2 separate regions of the Homo sapiens genome follow, and region 2 is linked to region 1. Evidence: promoter capture Hi-C in human tissues and cell types (Jung and others, 2019). All regions are on one chromosome and are shown on one strand. The core of a region is centred on a gene start or on the middle of the fragment in contact, and the rest is flanking DNA. Distances in the headings are between cores, read along the strand shown.

The links. The method cuts DNA at HindIII sites, captures the fragments that hold promoters and counts their contacts. A contact is called where the count stands out against the background at its distance.
Region 2: a contact is called between a fragment that was not itself captured here and the fragment with the promoter of TMEM50B in region 1, in 1 of the 25 tissues and cell types used here (dorsolateral prefrontal cortex).

What each region holds. Positions count from the first base shown.
Region 1 is chr21:33,476,726-33,483,059 of GRCh38, reverse strand. TMEM50B (transmembrane protein 50B) reads left to right here and starts at 3,086. Exons shown (of 7, transcript NM_006134.7): 1 at 3,086-3,222. It also overlaps the pseudogene RPS5P3. The HindIII fragment of the contact is 12,756 bases long and covers 1-6,334 here.
Region 2 is chr21:32,711,889-32,718,222 of GRCh38, reverse strand. All of the region lies in intron 2 of SYNJ1 (synaptojanin 1), which reads left to right. Among named protein-coding and RNA genes, the nearest start is that of SYNJ1, 13 kb to the left of the region's middle. The HindIII fragment of the contact is 4,447 bases long and covers 526-4,972 here.

The DNA.
Region 1 (6,334 bases), core at 1,837-4,336:
TTGAGACGGAATTTTACCATGTTGACCAGGCTGATCTGGAACTCCTGACCTCAGGTGATCCAACCGCCTCTGGTTCCCAAAGTGCTGGGATTACAGGTGTGAGGCACTGTGCTCGGCCAAATGCCCATATTTTTGAAAGCATAACTAAATACATGTTTGACTCTTTGTGGAATAGAGGTTTATAGACTGAGAGAAGCAAATTGTGCTATGGTTTGAATGTGTCCCCAAAAAGTTCATGTGTTTGAAACTTAATTACTATTGTAATCGTGTTGAGAGGTAGAACCTTGAAGATGTGATTGGGTCATGAGGGCTCCACCCTCACGAATGGATTAATGCTGTTATTGTGGGAGTGGGTTAGTTATCTTGGGATTGGGCTCTTGGTAAAAGGATAGCGTCAGCCTGATTTTCTCCTTCTGTCTTGTATGCTCGTTGGCCCCTGTCTGTCTTGTTTTCTACCATGGGATGACACAGCATGAAAATCCTTACAAGATGCCAGCACCATGCTCTTGGAGTTCCCGGCTTCCAGAACTGTGGACCAAATAAAACACTATTGTTTATAAATTGCCTGTTCTGTGTTATTCTGTTATAGCAGTAGAAAAGGACTTCAGACAAGCTGCATTAACATAAGTCTCCACTACTAAAAAAGCAACTTAAAGCATGTGCATCCCAACGGTAGGTGAACAGTAATGTCTTCCTTCATATATGGAGGTAATCATTTTTCTACAGATATTATTCTGTAACAAAGCTTAAAAAAATCCTGGGAAACCTTAAAATATTAGTACTTTAAAAAGCAATGGCCTGTCTGTGCCAGGGCAGCATGTGGTCCATGCTGATCGACAGAGACACTCAGGCTGTGCCCTCAGGATGACCGAGTGGGAGACAGCAGCACCAGCAGTGGCAGAGACCCCTTGACATCAAGCTCTCTGGGAAGTGGAGCACTGATGATATGCAGATCAATGGCATTTCCCTGCAGGATTACACTGCAGTGAAGGAGAAGTATGCCAAGTACCTGCCTCACAGTGCTGGGTGGTATGCAGCCAAATGCTTCCGCAAAGCTCAGTGCCCCATTGTGGAGCCCCTCACTAACTCCATGATGATGCACGGCTGCAACAACAGCAACAAGCTCATGATCATGTGCATCATCAAGCATGCCTTCGATTTCATCCACCTGCTCACAGGCGAGAACCCTCTCCAGGTCCTGGTGAACGCCATCATCAACAGTGGTCCCTGGGAGGACTCCACATGCATTGGGCGAGCAGGGACTGTGAGACAACAGGCTGTGGACATGTCCCCACTGCACTGTGTGAATCAGGTCGTCTGGCTGCTGTGCACAGGCACTCGTGAGGCTGCCTTCTGGAACATCAAGACCATTGCTGAGTGCCTGGCGGATGAGCTCATCAATGCCACCAAGGCCTCCTCCAGCTCCTATGCCATCAACAAGAAGGATGAGCTGGAGTGTGGGGACAAGTCCAACCGCTGATTTTCCTGGCTGCTGCCTAATAAACCAGTCTGCCCTTTGGGATGCCTCCCCCACCCCCCCAAAAAAAGTGATGAGATTTGGAAACTTCTAATTGTCCCCTAATATCTAGTTTTCCTTCCTTAGTACTGAAACCCCATTTTCCAGCCTTCTTTGCAATTTGGTGTAGTCAAGTGACTATTTTACTAGCAGAATGAAAACAAAAATGGTACATGCAACCCCCGCCCCTTTCAAAAGGTTCTTAAAGAGAGGAGAGTGTTCCCTTCTGTATCCTCTCTTCTGGTGGAATGCCAGCATTGTGACATATTTCAAAAGTAAATTATTCAGCACATATTTATTGAACACCTAGATCCTAGCCCATGTATAAGAGCTATAGGAGAACATTATCCAGGATGGCATTTTTGGTGATAATTCCATGATACAAAACCTTTTACTTCATTATGCCTCAAGTAAAATGCTTTTTAGATTTCCACTGATAATAACTCTACTTGGCTGGGCACAGTGGCCCACGCTTGTAATCCCAGCATTTTGGGAGGCAGAGGCGGGTGGATCACCTGAGGTCAGGAGTTCAGGATCAGCCAGGTGAAATCCCGTCTCTACTAAAAATACACAAATTAGCCAAGCATGGTGGTGCGCACCTGTAATCCCAGCTACTCGGAAGGCTGAGGTGGGAGGATTGATTGAGCGTGGGAGGTAAGAGGCTGCAGTGAGCCAAGATCACACCACTGCACTCCACCCTGGACAACAGAGCAAGACCCTGTCTCAAAACAAACAAACAAACCACCCAAAAAACAAAGCTCGACTTTCCCCCAAACAACTAAATGGTTATAGGCATTTCTGTAGGAAATTTAGACGGGGCTTCCAAACGCTGTTAAAGTTATGTTGAAAATCCAAGAGGCTGAAAGATATCTGACTATAAGAAAGACGAAAAAAAAAAAAAAAGACAAAAATCTACGTGAATAGACGGGAGAGCGCCGAGCGAAATCAGAAGACTAGTTGTATTGTGAGGATCACCTCGGGTAACCAGCACTCGCTGGGTAGCCCTGGTTTACTAACTTCAACTTTCTGGGGCTCCATTTCTGAATTGAGGGGATTAGAAAAAGGCATCTCTAAAGACCCTCCGTTCCCGAGAACCCTCCCGGAGCACCTTCCCTACTCTGGGCAGCTCGCAGACAGACAAGACTGATCGGCCATAGGCGAAGGGAAACCCTGGTCCCCCGGGTCTCGAGCTCCGTCCGCACGTAATCTCACGGTACTGCACTTCAAGTCAGCGTGCAGAAACGCAGCAGTGGGAGCCCGGCGGCGGCCGCCCACCGGCAGGGGACAGGAGAGGCCCGTCCCGCTCTGCCCGGAACCGTAGATAGCTGGGTCTGAACTCCGGCTCCGGGAGGCCTGCAGAGCAGCCCACCCCGTCCCTCGGAGCTCGCCCTGCCCCCGGCCGGCCACTTGCTGCACGCCGATTGGTCGCGAGGAGCGCCCGGCGTCCCGCTGCGCCCAGCCAACGCCCTCTCCCCGCCCCCTCGCGTCCCGCCCCGCCCCCGGCCGGCCACTTGCTGCGCTCCGATTGGTCGCTGCGGTGCACACGGCGCCTCGCCCCGCCTCACCGGCGCTCTATCCTCGCGTCTGCTCCCAGCTCCGGGCTCCCGGGGCTGAGGTGGAGCCGCGGGACGCCGGCAGGGTTGTGGCGCAGCAGTCTCCTTCCTGCGCGCGCGCCTGAAGTCGGCGTGGGCGTTTGAGGAAGCTGGGTGAGTCCTGTCTGTGGGTCTCCGGCGCCAGGCAACCGTAGAGGGCTCGCGCCCGCCGCCCGCGCGTAAGGAGGCTCCCTCGTCGGGCCCTGTCCGGCCCGGCCTTCTGGGGGCTGTGGGGCCGTCCAGCCGGGTTTTCCCTGCGTTCGGCGCCGGCCTGCAGACTCGGGCCCGCGGAGCCCCCGCCGCCCCTTCTTGCCCCTGCCCGCGTCCCTTCGGGCCGACCGTGACCGTGGCGCCGCCGCGACCCGCAAGCAGCCCGGGGAGGCTGCCCTGCCGCGCTGTCACGCCGTCAGGTTGCGTTCCTGGGGAGGGCTGGAGAGGCTCCATCTCGTGCCTTTCACCTTCTCGCGCGGCGGGCACGGAGGCGACGGTTTTCGGGACGCCCTGCTGCGGCCGCGACGCCCTCCCGAGGCCGGAGCGAGGGCCCCGGGGCGGCTCCAGCCCTTCTTCGCCCCTCCCGTTTGCCCCGAACCATTGCTAGGAGCCTGTGTTTTCTGCACTTTTCTGATTTCATTCTTACGAGAGTCAAGTACAGAGGCGGGAGGGGAAAGGGAAGGGGAACAACATTCTTTCGAGAATTATAAACCTTGAGCTCCGTTAAATAAGTAGCAGCAGAGCATTGTCACTGGAGCAGTGGTAGTCGCGGGTAGGACCGTTTCGGTTTTTAGCCAATAGGCTGGTTAAAGGTACTTAAAACAGTAAGTTGGAAGGTGCTGAAATTCTAAGGTAAATACGTGACCTTTCAAAACCAAAGCAGTGAGACGGGCTAGGCTGGGCTGCTCCCCGCTGCGCGTGCCTGGGTCGGGGGGTGCGGAGGGGCAGGGGGCGGAGGCCTCGGACGGGACGGGGTGGGAGGGAAGTGGCATCCGCATCGTCTTACATCGCGCTGTAAGACCCGATTTTCTCTTTTCGGAGGATCCCATCTCCCTTCTCAGACTCTTCATCCTACCTGCACTGTGGATCCCTTGACACTTCAGAGGCTCTGAACTCTCAGGCCGGTCACACTTTTTCATCATTTTGTTTCTTGTCTTTTAAACCTGCATGCATTTCAAACGTAGAGCAAACATTAAACTTTTTTTTTAAACTGAAGATAGTGGTGCAAGACTTTGTTATTGAAATGCAAACCAAAAGTTATCTTGAATATTTATCGCGCTGGAAAAGCAGGTTTAATTAGAGTGAGGTGGGGACGTATATTTCTTCTTCCGGAGACACAGCCTTCCCACTCACCACCCCAATCCCTCCTCTCTGTCAACTAGGGTTACAGCAGCCTTACACTGGCTAGTCTTTTCTGAATTCTGAATTCACTTCTGGGGGCCAAGGTAAAGAATTTATCGTATTTTATCCTCATTTTCCTTTTCTGTTTTTTTTGAGACAGAGTCTCCCTCGTTGACCAGGCTACAAGTACAGTGGCCCGATCTCTGCTCACTGCAGCCTGCACCTCTAGGGTTAAAGGGATTTTACAGCCTCAGCCTCCCGAGTAGCTGGGATCACAGGCGCCTGCCACCATGCCTGGCTAATTTTTATATTCTTAGTAGAGAGAGAGTTTCACCATGTTGGCCAGGCTGGTCTTGAACTCCTGACCTCAAGTGATCCGCTTGCCTCGGTCTCTGAAAGTACTGGGATTACAGGTGTGGGCACCGCGCCTGGCCTTTTAAAGTGTATTATTATTATTTTTAAATTTATTTATTTATTTATTTTTTGAGACAGAGTCTTGCTCTGTCTCCCAGGCTGGAGTGCAGTGGCAAGATCTCGGCTCACTGCAAGCTCCACGTCCTGGGTTCACGCCATTCTCCTGCCTCAGCCTCCCTAGTAGTTGGGACTACAGGCGCCCACCACCACGCCCGGCTAATTTTTTGTATTTTTAGTAAAGACGGGTTTTCACCGTGTTAGCCAGGATGGTCTCGATCTCCTGACCTCGTGATCCACCTGCCTCAGCCTCCCAAAGTGCTGGGATTACAGGCGTGAGCCACTGTGCCCGGCCTAAAGTTTATTTTTAACTTATGTATATATATATATAATTTTTGAGGCCGAGTTTTGCTCTTGTTGCCCAGGCTGGAGTGCAATGGCGCTATCGTGGCTCACTGCAACCTCCGCCTCCCAGGTTTAAACGATTCTCCTGTCTCAGCCTCCCAAGTAAACTGGGATTACAGGCGCCCGCCGCCACGCCCAGCTAATTTTTGTATTTTTAGTAGAGACTCGAACTCCTGACCTCAGGTAACCCCCCCCCGCCTCGGCCTCCCAAAGTGCTGGGATTACAGACGTGAGCCACCGTACCTAGCCCGTTTTACTTTTTAAATGATTAAAGTAACATTCAGGTTGTTTAAAACATTTAAACATGACAGAAGAATATCAAGTAAAATTCAGACAGCGCAGAGGTATGTCAAGTTAGAATTCCTTGTTTGTTCACTCTTTACATCCTCAATTCCATTCCCTAGGAGGGTATTATATTATAATATTGCTCGGCAACTGATGATAATATAAGGACACATTTCCTTCATAAGCACGTGGAGACCTACCTCATTTCCTCCCAACCCCACCCCTCACTTTGGAGACCGGGTCTCACTGTGTTGCCCAGGCTGGAGTGCAGTGGTTCCCTCACGGCTTGCTGCAGCCTTGGGCTCAAACGATCCTCCCACCTCAGCCTCCTGAGAAGCTGAGACTATAGGCGAGTGCCACCATGCCTAATTTTTGTAATTTTTGTAGAGACGGGTTTCTCATATTGCCCAGGCTGGTCTTGAATTCCTGAACTCAAGCCATCCACCTGCCTCAGCCTCTCAAAGTGCTGGGATTACAGGTGTGAGCCATCCTGCCCAGCCAACTTGCCTCATTTTCAGAATGTTGCATGGTATACCGTTGTTTGGATGTACCCTAATATACATTTTTTGGTTCCTTATTGATGGACATTTTGACTGTTTCTGGGTTTTAGCCATTAAAAGCTTTGCTTTATGAAAATCTTTTTGTCGTTCTAGGGTAAGTTTCAAGTAGATAATATAAACAGATGATTGTACTTTGATATAATTTTATTTCACAAGGAATCTTTTTAAACTTAAAGTTGTTTTTTTTTTTTTTTTTTTGAGATGGAGTCTCACTCTGTCGCCCAGGCTGGAGT
Region 2 (6,334 bases), core at 1,500-3,999, 760 kb after region 1:
CCACTCTCACTGAATAGTAAAAACTCTGTGGCTTTTTATTACATCATCTCAGGTCTATCAGATGTTCTAACTTGTCCTATAAAATATACGTAACTCAGGACTATAACGGGAGCTTCTGACCATAGTGGAGTAACAGGAACTAGATTTACCCTCCTACCTTAAGTAACAACAACAAAATGAACAAAATACATGGAATGATTTGCAGACCTTGAACAAAAGGCAGCACAAGATGCTGACCCCTGAGAGAAGGGAAACAAATGAGGTGGGTTTTATGAATGCTCCAGCTTACTGCCTGGAGAGCTTCCAGGCCACAGCAGCAGAAGAGTCACTCAAGCAAAGCTTGACAGGATTCCTGAGTAGGGAATATGGGGAGGCCAAGGCAGCCAGAATCTCAGGGCTGTGTACTAGAGATGAGACAGTTGCACAAAGAGCTCCAGAGATCTGTAGAGGACTCCGTTTGAGACTTCAGCTCAGTGTTGATCGGTGCCAGTGTGTAAGGAAACCATTTGAGGCAGGGAAAGAATCACCAAAAAGGAGTAGGCAGAAAAATTTCTGGAGCTCACACAGGGCTGGGAATAGTTCATGTTTAACAACTAGAGTGGAGAAGTCCTGCATGGAGAATTAGGTTGAGTACTGCAAAGGGTATACTGCTTCAGTAAAGGGGCAAAGTAGTCCTAGACTAAATTCCACTCCAGCCCTCCCTAACAAAGCTTAAAAGCAAGACCCAAAGGGATGCCACTGTTTCCAAGTAACCGAACTTCCAAATAACTGTATCCCAGAACGAAGTTTAAGAATATTTATAGGAATATAGGAAAATATACCTCATAAGGAGCAAAGTCAAATGTAGAAACAGATGCTGTAATAGACAAGGACATTAAAACAGCTATTGTAAATATACTCCATATGTTCAACAAGTAGAGGAAAAAATGAACCTGTTAAGACGAGATATGAAAAATGTGAAAGAGGCCAGGCACGGTGGCTTACACTGTTAATCCCAGCACTTTGGGAGGCCGAGGTGGGCGGATCACCTGAGGTCAGGTGTTCAAGACCAGCCTGGCCAACATGGTGAAATCCCATCTCTACTAAAAATACAAAATTAGCCGGGCGTGGTGGCAGGCACCTGTAATCCCAGCTACTCGAGAGGCTGAGGCAGGAGAATTACTTGAACCCAGGAGTTGGAGGTTGCAGTGAGCCAAGAGCATGCCATTGCATTCCAGTCTGGGCAACAGAGCAAGACTCCGTCTCTAAAAAAAAAAAAAGTGAAAGACCCAAATTAGACTTCTAGATGTGGTAGGGATTACTATATTAGACATTGTAGAAGAAATGATTGGCAAACTTGAAGACATAGTAATAGAAACTGTCCAAAATAAAATACAGAGAGAAAAAAGGCTAAAATAAATAAATACACAGAGCATCAGTGAACTGCAGGACGACTTCCGGTGACCCAATATACATGAATATGTGGATCCCAGAAAGAAGTTGGTAGGGAAGAAAAACACTTGAAGAAATAATAGCTGGCACTTTTGCAAATTTCATGAAAGCTATGAATCCACATATCCAAGAAGCTAAATGAACATAAAGCAGAACACTATACCCAAATACATGATCAAGTTACTGTTTACCAGTGATACAGAGAAGATCTTAAAAGTAGCCCAAGGAAGAAAAGACACACATTTACAGAAGAGTGAAGATAAGAATGATAGTAGACTTTTCTTTGCAAGCAATCCAAGCCAGAGGACATTGGGAACATCTTTAAAGTACTGGAAGGAAGAAACCAAACCAAACCATTCACCTAGAGTTTTGTACCCAACCACAAATGAAGATGTAAAGACTTTTCAGACATTCGAAGGTTGAAAAAATATGAGCTAATTATAATGACTAGCAGTTTAATATTGTAGTATTACCTTTCTTAGTATCCAATACCAACATTTTCAAAACTTTTGAGATTATAAAGTCTGAATCAGTGAAATTTTGAAAGAAGCATACAAAGTGAAAGAAGCAATAAAGAGTGGAATGGGCTAGTGCAATTGTTTAGCCTTGTTAGAGTATCAAAAGGAAGTATAGTTTTAAAAATTGTGCATGATTTTTACTGGTGACAATTAAAATTTGCTTTGAGTGTTTTAATGGTTGTTAATAAGAATTTGTATTTTATCTTTTTCCAGCTTAAATAGAGTTTATAAATATAAGCCATTGCTGATCAGTAGTGTTACGTATGTGAGCACATGCATTCACATTGGGTTGCATTTCATAGCTACTGAACCAAATGATGAATGATTTGGCACTTGGAGAAAATAAATTTGGCATTTGGAGAGATATATAAATTCTTCTTGGTTGGATACTCATTACTTCCTCAGTTCAGAATGAAAAAATTTTAGACCCTTGAAATTCCTGGATAATTCTGGGCCAACTGAGTCAGTGAAAAGAAAAAAATTAAAAAAAAACTTTATTGTCTCAAAACATTAAATATTTCTATATGTTAAATGTACTTATTAAAATTTTGTGTTTCTATTTCATTATAGTCTTATTTAACTTTTTATATATAAAGGTGTGTTTACTTATATAACTAGCTCTTAGCAATAAATATTTATTATGAGTTATGTTTCATTCTGTTCACTAGTGGACCATAGGATTGCTGTAATCTCTTGAATGTGTTGCTGAAATATAGATAAACAAAATCATTTAATATCCTGTGGACCATGTGTGAACTATAAGTAGAATGAATCTTCTTTTTTCAATTTTTTTTTTTTTTGAGACAGAGTCTCACTTTGTTGCCCAGGCTGGAGTGCAGTGGCATGATCTTGGCTCACTGTAACCTCAGCCTCCTGGGTTCAGGTGATTCTCCTGCCTCAGCATCCCGAGTAGCTGAAATTATGGGTGTGCACCACCATGCCCAGCTGATTTTTGTATCTCTTTATTAGAGACAGGTTTCACCTTACTGGCCAGGCTGGTCTCGAACTCCTGACATCAAGTGATCCACCTGCCTCAGCTCCCCAAAATGCTGGGGTTACAGGCGTGAGCCACCGTGCCCGGCCTCTTTTTGTTTTTATTTTTAAATTCCAGAATCTTATAATTAAATAAATTTCTAGCTGGTTGTACCTTAGTGCTCATTAGTTGTCTTTCCTTGGTTAGCATTGGGAATATATCTTTGGCCTATCTTGTTCCCAGTTTTATCAATTCTCTTAGAGAATGGAGTAGAAAGTACAGTTTTCAGATTTTTAGTTGTGGCAAAGTGACGTAGGATTGATGAGAGCTGGGTTGAATAATTATGTTGGATGACACAATTGAGATCCAGCTTTTTGAAACTCAGATAATGGGTTAGAACCCACAAAAGGAAAATGCACTTCCCCTTGCACCGGATTGAGTGTTTGTGTATTCCTGAACCAAAAATGACTGTTGAGATATCATGTGCTGTTTGCATCAGGTAGATCATTGGCAGAAGAAGGTAGAAATTTCTGTGATTTCCATAGTATCACAAACTGTTTGGTGGCTACCAAATGAGGAAGAGTTGGAATAGGTACCGTATTGATGGTCTTACCAACCACTGCATATCCTCAAACCTGATCTTTCCTTCAGTCTCCCTTATGTCAATGGATTGCACTCCATCTACCAAGTTGTTTCAAACAACTTAAGAATCATCCTCAACACCTCTTCCCCTCACATTTCACACATTCTCTCTATTACCAAGTCTAGTCAATTCCTCCTCTTAATTTCCTTGAGATTCCATGCAACTGCCTGCATTTAGCTGGCTCTGTTTCAATCAAGACACTGTTGTCTCTTTCATGGATCATTACAATTCCCTCCTTAACTGGTCCCTCTGCTTCTACTTACCACGCCTACACCCCAGTCTTTTAAAAAACATGGTTTAGATCTTATTAATCCCCTGCCTAATACTCTTCAGTGATTGGCCACTGAAGTTAAAATCTAAACTCTAAGATGACCTACAATAAAATCGAGTTTCTGCTTCCCTCTTCAACCTGTTACCACTTTACCTCTTGGTTTCTATGTTCTAACCTCATTGGCCGCCTTTCAGTTCTGAATGTACCAAATTCTTTCTGGCGTCAGGGTCTTTACATATGCTGTTCCGTCTGCTCAAATGTATTTTTTTAAAATAATAAGCTTTTTAAATTATAATACATGTAGAAAAGTATATAAATCTTAAACATACAGCTTGATATATTATTATAGAATGAACATACCCTTATTACCACAACTGGGTTGAGAAATAGAATATTATTACTAGCATACCAGAGAGCTTTCCAGAGAATAATCCCCTCATGCTCCTTCCCAGTTATCTTTATTATGATCTGCAAAGATAATCACTATTCAGACCTCTTACATCATGGAATAGTTTTAAGTGTTTTTCAGCTTAACATAAATGGAGTCATTCTCTGTGTATTCTTTGGTATCTAGCTCCTTTCACTCAATGAAATCATCCATGTTGACATATGGGAAATCATCCATGTTGACATATGGGAAATCATCCATGTTGATATATGGGAAATCATCCATGTTGATATATGGGAAATCATCCATGTTGATATATGGGAAATCATCCATGTTGATATATGGGAAATCATCCATGTTGACATATGGGAAATCATCCATGTTGACATATGGGAAATCATCCATGTTGACATATGGGAAATCATCCATGTTGACATATGGGAAATCATCTATGTTGATATATGGGAAATCATCCATGTTGATATATGGGAAATCATCCATGTTGACATATGGGAAATCATCCATGTTGACATATGGGAAATCATCCATGTTGACATATGGGAAATCATCCATGTTGACATATGGGAAATCATCCATGTTGACATATGGGAAATCATCCATGTTGATATATGGGAAATCATCCATGTTGACATATGGGAAATCATCCATGTTGACATGGGAAATCATCCATGTTGATATATGGGAAATCATCCATGTTGACATATGGGAAATCATCCATGTTGATATATGGGAAATCATCCATGTTGACATATGGGAAATCATCCATGTTGACATATGGGAAATCATCCATGTTGATATATGGGAAATCATCCATGTTGACATATGGGAAATCATCCATGTTGACATATGGGAAATCATCCATGTTGTAGCAAGTGGCAGTAGTTTACTCATATTTGTTGCAGTGTAGTCCATTTTATGAATATTAAAATATTTAGCTGTTTTGTTGACATTTGCTTTATTTCCAATTTTGCTATTATAAATGACACAAGTATGAACATCCTTGTACATGTTTTTTGGTACATATATGTACACATTTCTGTTGGCTGTATTCTTAGGAATGGAATTGCTGGATCACAGTATATACGTATGTCGCCTGAAACATTTTTATCTCCACCGTTTATTTGGCTAGCCTTCCTGTCTCACTATAAAGGTCACTTCCTCAGTGAGGTTTATTCTAATCATTGTCCTCCTCCAACAAACAATTTAAAATTAGGTTCTCCCATTGTAATCTGTTAGAACTCCATTATAGTACTTACTATAATTTATAATTTTGCATTTGTATGGTTATATAATTCCTGTCTTCCTAATCTGATTCCTAAGAAGGTGTCACGGTACTGACTGTTTTTATTCCTAGAACCTTGCCAGGGGCCTGGTGCATGGTAGGCATTCAATAAATACTTCTTGCGTGAATGAAAGTTTTTTTTTTTTCCTTAAATGTCACCAAGATTGGAATGTGAAGTTTAAATAGGACATTAATTTAGATAGTTTAATATCTTTCAGCTGGAATTTTAATTACTTTTGTAAGAGAAACCTTTTCCTTTTAAAATAATTTTTCTCTTTATATATGATGAAATGGAAAGAAGCTTTACTGCCAGCTAGTTATGTGATCTTGGATGAATGATCTAATCTCTACTCTTTTTCTTCTGAAAATGAGAAGCTTGGATTACATGATCTCTAGGATCCTCATACAGGAGGTTCTCTGGTTCTATACCAAAGTGCTGTCTGCATGCAAATAAGCTCACCACAAACTGCAGTGCATGCAACCACAGGCAAATTGTGGTTCTAGAGAGATCATTCTAACATGCAGTCTTATTTTTACATTGTTATTGACCTTCTTTAGCTTAGTCTTCTGTATCAGCTGGGGAAGAACAGTGTATTCTCAGACTGCAAGGTTTGACCCACAGCAGAATGTTGACATTGGATAGTAGGCCCTTCATTTGGATGGCTTTATTATTTAGCTTAAATTATTATAATCCATCAGAAGTTGGAGAAATTTACATTTAAATTTAATCCTGAAAATACTTTTAAAGTAAAATGAAAGTGACATTTAAGTTACCTATTGCTCTTGGATAAGAAGTTAATTTTGTTT